Linked DNA regions of Homo sapiens: regions 1 and 2 are each linked to region 3. Evidence: promoter capture Hi-C in human tissues and cell types (Jung and others, 2019). All regions are on one chromosome and are shown on one strand. Each heading gives the region's core, a stretch centred on a gene start or on the middle of the fragment in contact. The rest is flanking DNA. Distances are from core to core; before and after follow the strand shown. Region 1 has its middle 8.6 kb from the start of LGALS16. Region 2 has its middle 21 kb from the start of EID2. Region 3 holds the start of LGALS13 (galectin 13).

What was found. The method cuts DNA at HindIII sites, captures the fragments that hold promoters and counts their contacts. A contact is called where the count stands out against the background at its distance.
Region 1: a contact is called between a fragment that was not itself captured here and the fragment with the promoter of LGALS13 in region 3, in 1 of the 25 tissues and cell types used here (bladder).
Region 2: a contact is called between a fragment that was not itself captured here and the fragment with the promoter of LGALS13 in region 3, in 2 of the 25 tissues and cell types used here (H1 embryonic stem cells and lymphoblastoid cells).

What each region holds. Positions count from the first base shown.
Region 1 is chr19:39,662,203-39,666,810 of GRCh38, reverse strand. No RefSeq gene overlaps it. Among named protein-coding and RNA genes, the nearest start is that of LGALS16, 8.6 kb to the right of the region's middle. The HindIII fragment of the contact is 4,209 bases long and covers 1-4,069 here.
Region 2 is chr19:39,558,788-39,563,332 of GRCh38, reverse strand. No RefSeq gene overlaps it. Among named protein-coding and RNA genes, the nearest start is that of EID2, 21 kb to the right of the region's middle. The HindIII fragment of the contact is 4,623 bases long and covers 1-3,717 here.
Region 3 is chr19:39,600,898-39,605,208 of GRCh38, reverse strand. LGALS13 (galectin 13) reads right to left here and starts at 2,685. Exons shown (of 4, transcript NM_013268.3): 1 at 2,626-2,685; 2 at 531-607; 3 at 1-31. The coding sequence starts at 2,640. The HindIII fragment of the contact is 10,640 bases long and covers 1-4,311 here.

The DNA of each region.
Region 1 (4,608 bases), core at 716-3,215, 62 kb before region 3:
GTTGAATGGCATTGACAAAATGCTGATAGTGTTATGAACAATAAGGTCCAGGCTAAGGTGGTCTCAGACGGAGATGAGGAACTTGTTGGGAACAGGAGCAAAGGTGACTCTCATTATGTTTTAGCAAAAAGAGTGGCAGCATTTTGCCCCTGCCCTAGAGATCTGTGGAACACTGAACTTGAGAGAGATGATTCAGGGTATCTGGTGGAAGAAATTTCTAAGCAGTAAAGTATTCAAGAGGAGACTCAGATGATGTTAAAGACATTCAGTTTTATAAAGGAAGCAGAGCATACAAGTTTGGAAAATTTGCAGCCTGACAATGTGATAGAAAAGAAAATGCCATTTTCTGAGGATAAATTCAAGCTGCCTGAAGAAATTCACATAAGTAGTGAGAAGCTGAATGTTAATCCCCAAGACAATGGGGAAAGTGTCTACAGGGCATGTCAGAGATCATCACAGCAGCCCCTCCCATCACAGGCCCAGAGGCCTACAAGGAAAAAATGGTTTTGTGGGCCGGGCCCAGGATCACTGTGCTGTGTGTAGCCTAGGGCCTTGGTGCTCTGTGTTTCAGCCACTCCAGCCATGGCTGAAAGGGGCCAACATAGAACTCAGGCCATGGCTTTGAGAGTGCAAGCACCAAGCCTTGGCAGCTTCCACCTGGTGTTGAGCCTGCAACTGCACAGAAGTCAAGAATTGAGATTTGGAAACCTCCACCTAGATTTCAGAGGATGTATGAAAACGCCTGGATGTCCAAGCAGAAGTTTGCTACAGGGGTGGGGCTCTCATGGAGAACCTCTGCTAGGGCCATGTGGAAGGGAAATGTGGAAGGATCAGAGCCCCTACACAGAGTCCCTACTGGAGCACTTCCTAGTGGAGCTGTGAGAAGAGGGACACTGTCCTCCAGACCCCAGATACCTTGCACCATGAGCCTGGAAAAGCTTCAGACACTCAACATCAGCCCATGAAAACAGCCAGGAGGTGGGCTATACCCTGCAAAGCTACAGGGGCAGAACTACACAAGGCCATGGGAGTCCACCTCTTGCATCAGCATGACCTTGATGTGAAACATGGAGTCAAAGGAGATCATTTTGGGGCTTTAAAATTTGACTACCTGGCTGGATTTAGGACTTGCATGGGGCCTGTAACCCCTTTGTTTTGGCCAATTTCTCCCATTTGGAACAGCTGTATTTACTCAATTACCTGTACCCCCATTGTATCTAGGAAGTAACTAGCTTGCTTTGGATTTTACAGGCTCATAGGCAGAAGAGACTTGCCTTTTATCAGATGAGACTTTGGACAGCAGACATTTGGGTTAATGCTGAAATGAGTTAAGACTTTGGGGGACTGTTGGGAAGGCATGATAGGTTTTGAAATGTGAGGACATGAGATTTGGAGGGGCCAGGAGCAGATTAATATGGTTTGGCTATGTACCTACCCACATCTCAGCTTCAATTGTATCTCTCAGAATTCCCATGTGTTAAGGGAGGGACCCAGGGGGAGGTAGTTGAATCCCTTGGGCTGGTCTTTCCCATGCTATTCTTGTTATAGTGAATAAGTCTCACAGGATCTGATGGGTTTATCAGGGGTTTCGTCTTTTGCTTCCTTCTCATATTCTCTTGCCACTGCCATGTAAGAAGTGCCTTTCATCCACTGCTATGACTCTGAGGCCTCCTTGGCCATGTGGAACCATAAATCCATTAAGCCTCTTTTTCTTCCCAGTCTCAGTTATGTCTTTATCAGCAGCGTGAATGTCGACTAATACATTTGGTATTGTCAAACTTCTTAATATTTGTGGAGCGAATAGATATGTAGTATCTTGTGCATTTTCTTGATTACTAATGAGGATGAGAAAATTTTTATGTTTTGGGGGCATTCTCTTTTGTGAAATCCCTATTAATGTCTTTTCCCAATTTTCTTTTGGGATGCTATTTTTAAAATTAATTCATAGGAACTCCTTATACTTTGTTGATTTGATATTAATCTTTCATAGGTTTTAGGTACTGCAAATATCTTCTTCTAGTTTATAGTTTATCTTTTCACTTTTTTACTTTTATTTTTTAATTTTTACTTTTTTTTTGAGACAGAGTCTCACTCTGCCATTCAGGCTGGAGTGCAGTGGCTCACTGTAACCTCCACCTCCCGGGTTCAGAAGATTCTCGTGCATCAGCTTCCCAAGTAGCTGGGATTGCTAGTGTCTGCCACCAATGCCTGGCTAATTTCTTATATTTTCAGTGGAGACAGGGTTTCACCATGTTGGCCAGCCTGGTGTCAAACTCCTGACCTCAGGTGATCTACTGTTGGGATTACAGGCTTGAGACACCATGCCCAGCTTATCTTTTCACTTTTTGATGTAAAAAGTTCTCAATTTTGTGATAGTCAAAACATCTAATCTTTTTTAATGGTTAAATGGCTTTTTGTGTCTCATTCACTTACATTTTCTACTAAAAGTTTTAAAGTTTTGTTTCTGACACATAAGTCTTTGGTCCATCTGGAATTTAATGTTTGTATATAGAGCGAAGAAGGAATATAATTTCATTTTGTTTCCTATATCAGTAACCATTATTTTTCTTTCCTATGTATTGAAAAGTCCTTTCTTTCTTTGCTGATCTGCCATGTCACCTGCATCACATATCAAATATTAAATTTGTGGAGATTTGTTTGGGAGCTCTCTATTCTGTTTCATTGGTCAGTTTATCAATGAAGACCACACTATCTTAATTGCTGTAGCTTTATAAAACTTCTGATATTTGGCAGGAGAAATCTTTCCTTTTCTTTAATAATGTCTTTGACATTCTTGGCCCCTTCCCTTTTCCACATATATATGTATGTATATGTATGTATATATATACATACATATATATGTGTATATATACATACATATATATGTGTATATATACATACATATATATGTGTATATATACATACATATATATGTGTATATATACATACATATATATGTATGTATGTGTGTGTGTGTGTGTATGTGTATATATATATATATATATATATATATATATATATAGAGAGAGAGAGAGAGAGAGAGAGAGAGAGAGAGAGAGAGAGAGTCTCACTTTGTTTCCCAGGCTAGAGTACAGTGGTGCAATTGTAGCTCACTGCAGACTTGAACTCTTGGGCTCAAGAGCTCCTCCTACCTCAGCCGCCCAAGTAACTAGGACTCTAAGGCATGCACCACCACATCCAGCTGATTTTTTAAAAAATTATTATTTTTTGTAACGATGGGGATCTTGCTATGCTGCCTAGGCTGGTCTCAAACTTTTGACCTCAAGCAATCCTCCCACCTCAGGCTCCCAAAGTGCTGGGATTACAAGTGTGAGCCACCACACATGGCTCCAATTTCCATATTTTAAGACCATATTTTAAAAGCTGCTCAAGCCTGCTTTTTTCTCTTGATGCTACTTGCAAATCCCTTACTTAGCTGTGGAAATACTGTTAGTGAAGAAAATCTAAAGAGTCGAAAAATGAAATATTCTTTCTTTTCTTCCAATTGCAAAAGGGCAGACACCCTCCTGCATCATAAAGCTAGTTTTGATAAATTGGTGAACTGAGAGCATACACAGTATTATTAATTCTGTTCTAATTTCTACTCCACTGTGGAGTCTCTTGCATAGTCTTAAAAGATTATTGCTATGAAATATTCTTATACATTTAACCCATAACCTCTACAATTCTGCAGTTGTAGTTGGTTGTCTTACCTGATAATCAGTTGCTTTGCTTCATAATATTTAAATTGCCATCTCTATTTTCCAAAAGGCATAAATACTACTATAGATTTTTTAGTTAAGCCAGAAGAAAGTTCACTTTATTTACTAACATAACTTATATGTAAAGGTTTAATAAATCTCCATGCTTCTTTTCTTTTGCATCATGACAGCCACTGAAAATAATATTTCTATAGCAGCTGGGGATAAATAGACAATGACTTTTGTAGCCAGAGGTGAATGGCCCAGGGGCTCCAGCACTCCAGGTCCCACTGAGCCTACCCCACAGCTGAGGGCATCTGTATTTCCACACACCTATAGTGCACGGTGCCCCAGAACAGAGATCAGATGCTCTCCTTTATTCAAATGGGGAGTTGAGAGTATTGTCATTGTAATTAAATTAATACATACATATTTATACACTGTTAAAATCTGGTTGGATTTGTGTCCCTTCACAAAACAAATTGCTTACATGAAACCACAGCGTTAACATAATTGAGTACATCTGCTTCTATGAGATGCTCTTTTAAATTGAATTATAATCTAATTTGAAATGTCAATAAAAAATTCAAATATTCAACTCAATTATATTTAGATTTCTTTTTGTTTTGTTTTGAGATGGAGTTTAGCTCTTGTCACCCAGGCTGGAGTGCAATGGCATAATCTTAGCTCACTGCAAGCACCTTCTCCTGGGTTCAAGTGATTCTCCTGCCTCAACCTCCCAAGTAGCTGGGATTACAGGTGCCTGCCACCATGCTCAGCTAATTTTTGTATTTTTAGTAGAGATGTGGTTTCAACATGTTGGCCAGGCATAGGGAAAGGGCTGTTATTCTGCCATCTTGGTAGGAACTCCAAGAAGCTGAGAATGGAGGGTGAGGGCAAGTGCTAC
Region 2 (4,545 bases), core at 157-2,656, 41 kb after region 3:
GGACACAGCACATTACCAGTTGTGGTGGCTATGAGGAAAAACTCTTTCTGCTTGGTAAAAGCAGAGAAAAAAGCAAAAGGGACTTCATCTTGCACCTTAGGTACCTGCATGGCCACAAGGGAGTAGAGCACCAAGCAGGCTCTTGGGACCCCTAATTCAGGGACTTGGTTCTTGGATGACATCTATTTACCTGCTTTGGGCCAGACGGAGTTCATTGCCCTGTGGAATGAGTCCTGGGCCTGGCAGCATTCACTATGAGTTGACTTAAGAGACTGTGGGCCTTAAGGAAACATCTGTGGTAGTCTGGCCATACTCTTCATTGTGGCAATGGTTATGGGGTGACCACTGCCTTTGGAAAGAGGAGTGTGGGAAGAACTGCATCTTGTGGTTTGAGTGCCAGCTCTGCTGCAGTAAAATAAAAGCACCATACAGACTTCTAAGGTTTTTGACTTTAGTCCCCAACTTTCAGGTGGCACCTCTGGACCCACCCAAGGCCTAGGGGAACTCACCGCCCTGAAGGAATGCACACAGACCTGGCTTGCTCTGCCATCTGCTGCTTCCAGAGTCCCAGGGCCTTGAGTGAACTTAGGTTGCAACCAGGGAGTGGATACAGAAGGCCTTCAGTGAGATCCAGTGCTATACTGGATTCAGGTCTGACCCAGTCATAGTGGTGGTGACCACAACGGTGCTTTTATTAGTCTATCCCCAGCTTTAGGTGTCTCAAAACACACACACACACACACACACACACACACACACACACACTGTTTTTTTGGGGGGAGAAAGAAAGGGAAAAGGGCAAAAGTCTCCGCATTGTAATCCAGAGAATTATCCTGGAACTTGTCCAAGATCATCAAGGTGGTAACTGTATGAGTCTGCAAGAATCACAACATTACTGGTTTTTAGTTCACCCCAAAGGAGATACAGCTTAAATCAAAACATTCAAGTGTTTGGAATATCTGGTATGCCTTCAAAAAAAGGACAGGTACAAATAAGCCTAGACAGTGAAGACCACTCTAAATACCTAATTACTCAATGATCAGACACTGAAGAACATCTGCTAGTGTCAACACTATCCAGGAAAGCATGATCTCCCCAAATAAACTAAATAAGCACCAGGGAGAAGCAGAGACCTTTCAGACAGGAAATTTAATTTAGCAGTGTTAAGAAAACTCAAATAAATTCAAGATAACACAGAGAAGGAATTCAGAATTTTATTAGATAAGTTAACCGAAAAGTTTAAAATAATTAAAAGGACTCAAACAATAGTTCTGGAGCTGAGAAATGGAGCCATAAAAAGGAATGATATCGTGCCCTTTGCAGGGACATGGATGAAGCTCAAAGCCATCATCCTCAGCAAACTAACATAGGAACAGAAAACCAAACACTGCACGTTCTCACTCATAAATGGGAGCTGAACAGTTAGAACACACAGACACGGAGAGGGAAACAATACACACTGGGGCCTGTTGGTGGGGGCAAAGAGAGGGAGAGCATCAAGACAAACAGCTAATACATGTGGAGCTTAATACATAGGTGACAGGTTCATAGGTGCAACAAACCACAATGGCACATGTTTACCTATGAAACAAACCTGCATGTTCTGCACATGTATCCCAGAACATAAAGCAAAATAAAATACAAAAATGCAATTGGCATACTGAATAATGCATCAGTCTTTTAACAGCAGAATTGATCAAGCAGAAGAAAATATTAGTGAGCTTGAAGACAGGCTATTTGAAACACACAGCCAGAGGAGACAAAAGAAGAAGGAGTAAAAAACAATGAAGCCATGAAACATGGCTATAGGATCTAGAAAAATAGCTTCAAAAAGGCAAACCTAAGAGTTACTGGCCTTAAAGAAAAAGTAGAGAAAGAAATAGTGGTAGAAAGTTTATTTAAAAGAATAATAACAGAGAACTTCCCAAACCTGGAAAAGGAGATCAATATCCAAGTACAAGCAGGTTATAGAACACCAAGACAATTTAACCCAAAGAAGACTAATTCAAGCTACTTAATAATCAAACTTTCAAAGGTCAAGAGCAAAGAAAAAATCCTGCAAGCCCCAAAGAAAAAAAATAGCATACAATGCAGCTGCAATACACCTGGCAGCAGATTTTTTAGTGGAAACACACACAATATTATAACACTGTAACCGTGATGTGTAAACTACTCATTTCCTAAATAGAAAGACTAAACAATGAACCAATAATAATAATAATAACTGCAACTTTTGAAGATATACACAGTAAAATAAGATATAGGCAGAAATAACTAAAAGTTAAAAGGCGGGGGGATGAAGTTAAAGTATAGAGTTTCTATAAGTTTTCTTGTTGCTTGTTTTTTTTAAGTAAAGGGTGTTAAGTAGCTATCATGTTAAAATAATGGGTTATAAAATAGTATTTGCAAGCCTCATGGTCACCTTGAACCAGAAAACATACAATGGATTCACAAAAAAAAACACAAACCATAAAAAGCAAGAAACTAAATTGTATCGCCAGACAAAATTATCTTCAGTAAGGAAAGATAGTAAGAAACAAAGGAAGAGAAGACCAAAATACAGCTAGAAATCAAACACCAAAATGGCAGGACTAAGTCTTTACTTAATTATCAATGAAAACATTGAATGAAAATGGACTAGACTCTCCAATCAAAACACATAGAGTGGCTGAATGGATGAAAAAACAAAAACAATTGATCTGTTGCCTACATGAAACACACTTCACCTATAAAGGCACACATATACCGAAGATAAAGAAATAGAAAAAGATGTTCCATGCTAATAGAAATGAAACAAAACAGGTGTAGCTATATTTATATTGGACAAAATATATTTTGAGACAAAAACTCTAAGCAGAGACAATAAAGTCAATATATAATGAATAAGACATCAACTCAGCAAGAAGATATAACAGTTTTAAATATATGTGCACCAAAGAGTGGAGCACCCAGGTATATAAAGGAAATATTATTAGAACTAAAGAGAGAGATAGGCCCCAATACAATAATAGCTGGAGATTTCTATGTTTCATTTTCAGCATTGGACAGGTCTTCCAGACAATACAAACAAAGAACGTTAATCCCTACTATAGAAGAAATGGATTTAATAGATACTTACAGAATATTTCATCCAATGTGATCATGTTTTCATCTCATAAAATCGTCTATGCTTCTTTCTCGGTTTATGTGACTTGAGGTTATTGAAGGCCGTGCCTTTCAACTTACACATAGCGGTGACATTGTTTTCTCCCACTGGACAGCTCTTCGGAATAGTGTCCGGTCTTCTATGTGAATGTCTGAGTTGCAGCACTTACATGGTCCCTGTTGGTCCTGACCTCTGGCTTTATTCCTGTTTTTTTTTTCTTTGTTTGTTTGTTTGTTTTTGAGATGGAGTCTCTCTCTGTCACCAGGCTGGAGTGCAGTGGCCCGATCTCGGCTCACTGTAGCCTCCGCTCCTCCCAGGTTCATCTCCTGCCTCAGCATCCCGAGTAGCTGGCACTACAGGCACATGCCAGCAGGCCCAGCTAATTTTTGTATTTTTAGTAGAGACGGGGTTTCACCATGTTGGCTAGGATTGTCTCGATCTCTTGACCTCGTGATCCACCTGCCTTGGCCTACCAAAGTGCTGGGATTACAGGTGTGAGCCACCACACCCAGCCTTATTCCTGTTTCCAAGCCCTTCCTAGCAAGATTTCCCAGCAGTGTGAGCAGGGGGTGACAGGAAGAGACTCAGTTTCTGTTTGCAGGCCTGTGACTGTGATGCAGCAGAAATGACAGTGAGGAATGTGCCAGGGGCAGGGAATCACCAGGAAAATGCACAGATGGAAATGATGGAATGAGGATGAGGAGCTGTGCAGCCCAGCTTCCTGGACTTCACTTCCACCTCAGTCTACGTTGTGCTGCTATAACAGACTCCATGATTTATCACAAACAGAAATGTATTTGGCATGCCTGTCATGAAGCCATGTCATTGTGTATCCTGATCAAAGGGTTTGCCTTCTATTTATCTCTGACCAAGACTTACGCTCTGAAAAGTACTGACTGCCCTGTCCATTATTTGAGGCTTCAGCCCCTCCTCTGTGACACGACTTCTCCCATTAAGTCAGGAAGGAGGATAGGAGGAGGGCATGGTCATGTGGGTGCACCCTTTAAATGAGGAAATTGGTCTTTGCTAAATCTGGGTCTCAGCATTTCCAGAAATGAAATGGTTCACCCCCCATTCCTGAACTGAGGGCGAAGAGCATATGAGCTTCCCTCTTCTTTTTCCTGGTTGAGTGGAGGGACCTGTGAGTTTTGGGGTCCAGGTAGAAGGAAGAGAGTCCCCATGAGATCCCTACTCTGCTTTCAGTATAGACCATGACTCCCACTCAGCCCTGCTCAGCTCCGACACAGCCCCTCCCACCCTGCTACTCTCTCAGTTATTCATGCCCCAAATCCCCTCTCTCAGTCCAGAAACCTCCATGCCGTCCATTATCCTCCTCTTTCCCTCACACGCTTTCTCACACCTGTGGAAAGTCCTATGGTTCTACTTTCGTAAGCCAACCA
Region 3 (4,311 bases), core at 1,436-3,935:
GTAGAAATCCACCTGCAGCTGTGGGTCATTGCTGAGGGTGAAGCACGCAGAATGTTGGGCAGGTCCCTCCCTTGCGCAGACACACACTCGACACACACACAAATCCCTTCCCCCATTTACCTAGGGAAAAAGTCTCCCAGATAATACTGATGGCCAGGTCCCTGTGGGGATGCTTCAGCTCCTCATGCCCCCAGGCAGGGAGATTCTGTGCTCCTCATCCCCAGATGAAAACTGAGCCACAGTCACTGACCTGGGCCTATGACTTGTTCATTCCCGAAAATTCTATGCCCCCTGATAAAGAGCCACAGCCCCAACCCACTGAGTGTTCTCCTCCTGTAGGCCCCATGGCTGGCCCACATGCAGTTGCTGTGGGTCTCATGCCTGGTGCTGGAGGGTCTCCAAGACCTGCACCTGCATGGGGCCTCCATTCTGCCAACTAGACATTTCCACATCACCCACATGTAAGGTCAAATCTTCGCAAATATTCTCCCTTCTTCTCCAACCCCTCCATTGGACCATGGAGTACTCACATAAAAGAGTGGATTGGTGTCCCTTTGATTATCACGCAGGAACCAACAGACAAAGACACAGGCAGTTTGTATGGCACCTGCCAGAGTATTGAGAGTAAGTGAGAGGTGCAGGGTCAGGTGCAGTCTCCCCTCCTGTAACATATTCTCATGGTGCAGGAGGTTGGAGATGAAAGGGCAGACTCTGTGGACTCTCCTCTTTAACCCTACCGCATTCAGGGCCCCATATTCCTGAAGATATGGCGGACCCATAAGTTAGAGCAAGGGTTCAGGAGCCAGGATGCCTGGATTCCAGTCCTCATTCTGCCTTTTACTAGCAGTGCAGTCTTAGATTTGCTACTTGAACTCTCCCTCATTTTCCCTAGGACAACGAGGATTATCAGGAATTTCTACTTTGTAGGATGTTCTCCGTAATAGGGAGTTAATACATGTAAAAGTGTTACCCTAATCCCTGTCATGCGTAGGGCCTCTTAGGGTGACCTAACAGGACAGGAGAGTCCTCTTGAAAGACTGACCTGCCTTCATTTTCAACTCTGAAAATTAAAACAAGACTTGTAAATGTAAGAATTTAAACATTCACTCCAGTGAGAAACAACACTTGTTGAAAGGGAGAGGGAAATGATGAAAGAACAGGAAACCCCTGTGTGTGGGATGCACATGCATCACTATCATCAAGGGCCATGGACATCCTTCCAAGAAGGGGCACACACTACTGAGAGCACAGCCCCAGTACTTGCACAAATGAAGCTTGTGGGTCAGGGACATAACTGGAGGGAATGATTGATTTCTATGATGACTACAAGTAGATGAGATGATTTTTCTGTACTTTTGAGATAGGTTCTTGCTCTGTCACCCAGGCTGACATGCAGGGATGCAATCATGGTTCACTGAAACCTCAGACTCCTGGGCTGCAGTGAATCTCACACATCTGCTCCCTCTTGAATAGCTGGGAAGAAAGGTACCTGCCTCTCTGCCAGTCAAATATTTAAAGTTTTTTAAAGAAAGGGTCTCACTCTGATACCCAGACTGGTCTCAAACTTCTGGCCTCGTTATCCTCTCATCTTTGCCTCCAAAATTGGTGGGATTATAGCCATAAGCCAGTGAACCCAGCTGCTTGGTTGATTAATATCCACTGTAAGCTCCTTCTGAACTGAGACTTAACTTGTTCTTTCATGGGTGTAGAACAAGTTTAGTCTCAGTTCAGACAGAGCTTACAGTGGATATTTTGTGTGATTCAGTCTCTGAAATCACGGCCTCTAATGTCCTTCCCTAACAAACCAGTATCTGCACACCCTCCTGTCACACAGTGGGAAGAACTGGATGGGCTAGGGACAGGCAAGCTGAGCCTGGGAGGCAAGAGACAGTGGTCACTCTGTGCAGACCCCACCTGAGGAACCATCACCCCCATAGTCTGCATTCCTCTTCCCCACTCTTACTGGGAAGAGACATCTACTGATCATACATTCTGCTCTCACAAGTGATCTGAAATAAGTCCTTGGTAACTCACAATCCCCAAGATCCCCACCAGTTAAGCCACATGGGATTCACATCAGAGGTGCTGCTGTGTGGGGAGAAACATTCACATGTGAAGAAAGCCACATGCATGATCCCACTTCAACATACAGTCACATCCCAGCACACACACTCACAGTCACACAGAGCCACACCACTCACTGCGTCACACACACCTGCTCACTGTGCACATAACGATGCTCATGCACTGGTCTGGCTGTGCTCACACACATACTCACATCATAGACAGGAAACAAAGCCGACTCACCCCTTTACTCTCCATTCACACACCTGCTCGTCCTGGTGGGTAATCCACCTCCCACTTAAAGTCACATTATCTCCGCAGAGTTTATGCTCATCAGACACCACCTCACACTCACCGAAGGTTACACTGGTCCAGGGTCCACACCGCAATCCCCACAAGCATCTCAGATACCATAGCCTCAGGGTTTCTATTCCACACCTCAATAGCTCTAAGTAAAGCATTCACAGCAAAAATGCTCATATTTTCATCTCATAAAATCTCCCATTTCTTTCTTGGTTTGTGTGACACGAAATTTTTGAAGGCTGTGCCTTTTCAACTCACGGGTAAAGAAGACATTGTTCTCTCCTTCTTGGCGACCTTCAGAATTGAGTCCAGTCTTCTGAGTGAATCTCTGAGTTGCAGCATTTAAATGACCCACTTCAGCCTTGCCCTCGGGCTTCATTCCAGATTCCAAGCTCCTCCCAGCAAGATTTCCTTGCAGCTTTAGACAGGTTTAGTTGTTAGGAAGAAACTCAGTCACAACCATAGCTATTTGCAGGTCTGTATCTGTAATGCAGCAGAAGTGACAGTGGGGGAGTTACCAGGCTGTGGATTGGGTTACCAGGGAAATGCATAGATAAAGATGATGGAGTGAGCGGTAGTGGTTGTAAAGCCCAGCCTTTATGCCTCTCAAGCCTTTTCTCATCTATGCAGAATATACCCAGAAAGTGTACATTTTCCCAATTTGTACAACGGCTGAAAAGAAAAAAGTTGGAGATTTTGGGGAAATACATTAGCCCTAGAAGGTAATGATTCTCTCTGCTTTTGAACGTTCTGGGAGAGCACTGACCTTGATCCTCAGGAGGATCTGTGGAGAGAAGCAGAGAAATTTCTTGCATGAACCTATTCCACACTAGGCTGCTTGGCTCTGCCAGGTAAGGGCCACTCTCACCTGACTGTCACACACCTGGGCTCTAGCTACACCCTCTCCTTTCTCTTGGTGTCCATGTAAATAAAAGTTTCAGAGACACTGTTTCTCCTGCAGATTCTGGGAGGAAGGTGAGATTGTTGTTTTTATTTGATTTTTCTTTCATTTTATTTTAGGTTCGGGGTACATATGCAGATAAAGTCGTGTCATGGGATTTGTGGTGTATATGATTTCTTCACCTGGTTACTAAGTGTAGTACTCAAAAGTTATTTTTTTTCTCCTCTTCCACCTTTCATCCTCCACCCTCAAGGAGGCCCCAGTGTGTGTTGTTTCCCTCTTGATGTCCATGAGCCTCCTCATTTAGTTCACGCTGATAAGTGAGAACATGCAGTATTTGGTTTTCTGTTCCTGCATTAGTTTGCTAAGAATAATGGCCTCCAGTTCCATCCATGTTCCTGCAAAAGACATAATATCATTCTTTTTTAGGACTGCATAGTATTTCATTGTGTACATGTACCACATTTTCTGTAACCGATCTGTCATTGATTGGCATTTGGGTTCATTCTGTGTCTTCGCTATTGTGCATAGTGTTGCAATGAACATTCATGTGCATATGTCTTTATGGCAGAATGATTTCTTTTCTTCTGGGTATACACCCAGTGATGGGATTGCTGGGTTGAATGGTAGATCTATTGTTAGCTCTTTGAGGAATCACCACACTGCTTTCCACAATGGGTGAACTAATTTACACTGTCACCAACAATGTGTGAGTTCTCCCTTTTCTCCACAACCTTGAAGCATCTGTCCTTTTTTGACTTTTTAATAACAGCCATTCTGACTGGTGTGAGATGGTATCTCACTGTGGTTTTGATTTGCATTTCTCTAATGTTCAGTGATATTGAGCTTTTTTATATGTTTTTTGGCCACCTGTATCCTTACTTTTGAAAAGTGTCTGTTCGTGTCCTTTGCTCAACTTTTTTGTTGTTGTTTTAAAACAGGTCTCACTCTGACATTCAGGCTGGAGTGATGTGGCACCATCTTGGCTCACTGTAACCTCTGGCTCCGGGGCTCAGGTGATTTTTCTAAGCTCAGTCTCCTGA